Regions from separate parts of the Homo sapiens genome. Here region 1 is linked to region 2. Evidence: promoter capture Hi-C in human tissues and cell types (Jung and others, 2019). All regions are on one chromosome and are shown on one strand. The core of a region is centred on a gene start or on the middle of the fragment in contact, and the rest is flanking DNA. Distances in the headings are between cores, read along the strand shown.

Region 1 (2,700 bases), core at 100-2,599, 550 kb after region 2:
GGAACAATATGAAATTTGAGTTTTTGTTTCTCAACCCAAGTCAAACTTTTATTGTAAGTTATGTGACCTTTGACATTGGAATAAAATACACTTTCTCACTTACTTATTGGGGAAAAAACTATACCATCCAAGCCCAGCCACAGATATTAAATATTAGTATGTTTATTTCTGGGGGTTTTTTTCCCCTGTGAATAGGTTTAAGCTAAGGAGACATTTTCTTATATGGTTATAGGAATAGTTGATATAAAATTTTAATATCTAGATTTTTAAAATGTGGCCGGGCATGGTGGCTCACGCCTGTAGTCCCAGCACTTTGGGAGGCCGAGGCAGGTGGATCACCTGAGGTCAGGAGTTTGAGACCAGCCTGGTCAACATGGTGAAACCCTGTCTCTACTAGAAATACAAAAAATTAGCCAGATGTGGTGGCACACGCCTGTGGTCCCAGCTACTGGGGAGGCTGAGGCAGGAGAATCACTTGAACCCAAGAGGTGGAGGTTGCAGTGAGCCAAGATCGCACCACTGCACTCCAGCCTGGGCAACAGAGTAAGACTCCGTCTCACAAATAATAATAATAATAATTTTTCCATGCTATCATCAAATAGCTAAGTTTTGTTTCTCTGAGTTTAGACTTGAATCTTAGGCTTAAAGGGCACGTTAGTTGTTGTTTAGATCAACTCCCAGCACCTGAATAAATGCCTTCCATGCAATCCTGAACACAATCTATTTTTCTCTATTTTTCTGTACAAAAATAGACAAAATGGTCCATTTTTTAGTACGAAGTGTTGCTCTTGACTAAGAGTATGTTAATGAAGCTCTTTGTCCTTTTTCAAAGCTTACATTCTCAAACCATAACCCTCATATTTGCTTAATGTTAGTGGAACAACTCAAAGGTATACTGTGCCTGTCACAATACAAGAAAGATGCTTTCAGAAACAAAAATGGTTCTTATCTAAATAAGAAGAAAGCTGTCTCCATTTCCATAAAAAGGATTGCATCCTTGCCAGAGAAGATAATAGAGTTTACATACACAGTCAAGAAGAGTGTGGGATAAAGTCATTTTTATTTTCACAAATAAAAAGTGTTTTGGTAACTGGAAGGCAGCCCATATAAAACAAGCTTTCATAGTCACCATTTCCTCAAGCTCTTCCCAGTGAGAGATGGGAAACACTTGAAACTGCTCACTGGAGAAAAAAGGATGATGAGGGTGACTTTACTGTTTATTTGAGGGGTGAGTATGAGGAGGAAGTGATTCTAAACTTCAAACGTGATGAAATATAATTTCTTCATCATGCCTTGATCAAATATAAGATCACTTCATAGAGTTTGTTTCTCTTATATGCCCACCATTTTTTCATATATATATGATTTGATTTTATATACACATATGTATACATATTATATATAAATATATATGTGTATACATATATGTGTGTATATCTATGAATCAAACATACTGTTTCTGTTGGAGATGGTTCAGAATTATAAAGATTATCTGAATCTTTATCTGTGAGCAGTCTCCAAGTAAGAAGTTGAAAGGTGAAGCCTTTGACTGCTGTCATGTCTGAGGTCATTCCAAGGACATGGGAGACTGCTGTCCATGGTTGGATCCTCTTAACATCAGCAGAGTTCTGTCAAGTTACTTAGCTTTCACTGGGGCAGCTCTAGCATTCCATTAATTCAAAATGTTGTTCCTTAATATAAGCCTCTAACATTTAAAATAAAAATTTTAAATGTATCCATTAAGGGAATAATTACATATTGAATTCCTAAGAAATAAGAATTATTTGGGTGGTTTTTTCTAGATAGAATAAACACAAGAGCTGGACTATATTAACTGTTGTATACACTTTTTTAACTGGCATTTTCAGTTACTTGTGATTTTTCCAGGAAAAATAAAAATGAATTAAAGTGGAACAGCGGACTTCTAATTGGTTTTGTCTTTTGATTACATTTGACCATCAACAATGATGTAAGCCTTGGATAGAATGTTGCCCCTCAGTGCCCCACTTAAATTTCTTGGTAAACCTTTGGTGTATACACTTCATTGTGCTTTTTGGAATGACTCTAAAAGCCCATAAACTAATGCTTTGCAAAGCCTAAATAAAAATGTTTGCAGCCTGTATTAGAAACACTTCCTTTTATGATCTGAATGTAAAATAGAGGTTGTTGGTTTTTTTTTTTAACAAATTACACATTTGTGATCTTTGCAATATATGTGTAACCAAAACCGAAAATTGCAAAGAAATTGCTTGGAGCTGATTAACTTACATGCTGCTATTTAGAAATTCTACTAGAGATTATTAATGCACAAATATTTTCAGAGAAGTTGCCTTATTTACAGGACAACACTACCTATATTTAATTATCATCTTAAGGCTAAGAAGAAATAAGGGCAGAGGTATTTTCCATAAAGCCATTATATTATGTTAGTTTTTATTAATTCAATTCTATTTACAAAGACTTTAAGGCAGGCCTTACTTTCTTTAAAAAAAAAAAAAAAAAAAAAAAAAAAAAGCTAAGCTCCACAAAACTTAAGTGATTCAGTACTGCCTGATTCTTTAATTAGCCTGAGAGACTTGTAATCCACCAAAACTTAACTAGGCAGTTAGGCAATTAGTGTGCTGTCTTCTCTCATATCAAAAAGGCTTGAATCATGGCCATTGTCATTACTTACAATTATTTCTAGTTTTTCATGCCATA
Region 2 (2,700 bases), core at 132-2,631:
GGTTCACACCTGTGGTCCCAGCTACTCGTGACACTGAGGTGTGAGAATTGCTTGAGCCAGGGAGGTCAAGGCTGCAGTGAGCCACGATCATGCCACTGTACTTCAGCCTGGGCAACACAGCGAGACCTTGTCTCTAAATCGATAAATGAAATAAAATGAAATAAAATAAAATAAAATAAGATAGGGAAATTTCACATCCATCTGAATAACTAAATAAAAAGGTATAAGTATTTTGAGATATGCAAAAATTCAGTAAGTTTATAGCCATACGATCTGTATGAAAAGGTTATTCTAGGACATGCTTCAGTAAAACAAGCAAAAATGCAGTTAAAGGATGAAATGAGAGTGAAGAAAACGTTGCTGTTGAATGAGATCTAGCAGAAATAAAGAAAATGAAAAAAAATTAAAAAGAGACTCACTCAGCCTTAGAATTTTGGAAATATTTTGTGAGGGCACATGGAATTCACATTCTTTGTCCAAGTGAGAGACAATATTGCCTGATGGTTAGGACATGGGGTCTGGAGGCAGACTACCTGGAGTTAACCACTATCCATAGTTTGATTTGTAAACTTTGCAACCTTTGTAGTAGGTTCATACACAGGCACGCCCATATGAAGACACATACCAGCACGTAATCATCTGTAAACCTGGGAATCAACTTGCTGAAGCCAACTCCATTTTTACCCGAGTACCCCACAATTGCCGATACCAGTTTCTGATCTTCCCATACACCTTAACAACTTTCCACTTCTCCACTTCTTCCATTATCCTTCATTAGGTGAAAGAAAGCCATTTACTTACTCCTAGGCATACCTGAATGTTCTCTCCTATCTAAGACATTGTCATACAATGCCAGCTCCTGTCTCCCCTCCAGCCAATAAAACTAACAAAAGGGGATACGCTCTTTTAACCTCTTGGAGTTTTGTTTCTTTAAGGCAAAGATGTGATTTGCTAAAAAGACTGTTGCAAAATGATTTCCATAGCTTCCCTAATGTGTTTTTTCCAGGTACAGAATGCTACAGAGAAAAAAATTAAATACTGCATAAATACATTATCACATTAACTAGATATTGGTGCTATTACTTGTGTTCTGAGTTATACCCTTCTCCCATGCCCATATCATATCCCTTTTCTTCCACTTTCCTTCCTGAATAATTCTGACTAGATTTCAAGCACCAGATCAAAGAAAGACCAAAGAAGGCTAAAACCACATGCATTCTGCTAGCAAACTCTACTCAGCAAGAGAGACCCTGCCCAGTAAGAACGTGAAATGAACACCTTCACTTACTTGGATGACTGCTAGCCTTTCCTTTTTTCTTTAGTCCAAATCCAGACATTTCATCAGGGAAGTGTGTGGCAAATAGACGGCACTCTCGAAAGTGAAAGTAAAGCTTGAAAAAAAATGCTTTTATGTTTGGTGCATTCCAAGAAGGGCAAAGGGAGAAAACAAAAACAATCTCTGACAACCTCAGAGAGGCGTTTCAAACCGCCTCTGAAAAACACCTAGTTTTTATTTTATTTTAACTTTTTTTAAGCTGAGATCCTTGGATTTCATTGAAAGGGTCACAGATTTAGCAACAGCTAAAGTTGAAAGTGGGGACCTCACCATTTGATGTGGGCGGGTCTGGACCTCTGCAAGTTAAGGAATAACAGTGAATCCCTCAATTTTCTGCTAGACTCATGCGAAGCTGTCAGAATTGAGTAGTGTATGGTCACAGGGACAGAAAAAAAAATCCCTAATCAAAGCTGAAGTACTTTCCCTTCTTTCGTCTGGCTTTTATCTCTTTGCAACACTGTAAAATAACACCGGCAGAAATTAACCTCTTGATCCAGGAAGAAACTGAGTTTCACAGCAGAGAAAGAGCCAAACATGGCAAAGCTGAGAGCCAGTCCCACTCCTGCTGATCCACTTTTCCACGGTCAGACGCGTTAGGGAACAGATCAGTATGCCCAGAAAAGTTCAGATTAACTAAGAATTTCGTTCTTAATTTGCTTTAATGACTCCAACTAGTTAAGTAAATGTACTTGTTAAGAAATGAACTCACTTTTTTTCATTACAGATGTGCTATGATCTATTATAACTATATTGTTATATAGTGAAATATCACAATTGGAAGGAACTATAGACCACCTAATCTAACTCCCTTGTTTGAGAAATTAGGAAAACGAAACCTAGGGAGGTGAGTGGTTTGCCTAAGAACATGCCACAAGCCACCATATGCTTCAATCACACAAGTCATAAAACAACTGGACGGCTGGGACATGGCATTAGCTTGAACTCATTGCAGAGCTGATGGCAAGAAACAAGCGTGCATCATGGTGCAAAGTGCCCTCTTGTGGGCTCCAGCTTCAGCTAGACCGCTTTATAGTTACTGGGCTCAGGGCTACATGTCTCTGATTTTCATTTGTGACATCTGTAACATAACACCATAAGCAAACAGATGTCCTGAGTACGTGACTGTCCCTCACATCTATCCATTGGGATGTCCAGGAAAACTTCACTAATATTCAAAAGATTTCTTCTCTGTGAGCGCCTTGAAGGCAGGGTGAGGTTTATTCTTTGCATTATAGCTCCCCAGCAACCCTCTGAGGTAGACTGTTTCTTTGGCCTTCAATGAAAGAGACTCGTCCTCAGAATTCAAACCCTTGTGTGGCCTTCTCCCACGCTGACTCTAGGCTTGGCCATTTGACTAGCTTTGA

What was found. Contacts are between HindIII fragments. The study calls those that stand out against the background at their distance.
Region 1: a contact is called between a fragment that was not itself captured here and the fragment with the promoter of TLR3 in region 2, in 2 of the 25 tissues and cell types used here (H1 embryonic stem cells and heart left ventricle).

Annotation. Positions count from the first base shown.
Region 1 is chr4:185,517,162-185,519,861 of GRCh38, reverse strand. All of the region lies in intron 3 of PDLIM3 (PDZ and LIM domain 3), which reads left to right. Among named protein-coding and RNA genes, the nearest start is that of PDLIM3, 17 kb to the left of the region's middle. The HindIII fragment of the contact is 4,125 bases long and covers 1-2,700 here.
Region 2 is chr4:186,067,837-186,070,536 of GRCh38, reverse strand. It overlaps TLR3 (toll like receptor 3), which reads right to left and starts at 1,381. Exons shown (of 5, transcript NM_003265.3): 1 at 1,289-1,381. The HindIII fragment of the contact is 6,210 bases long and covers 1-2,700 here.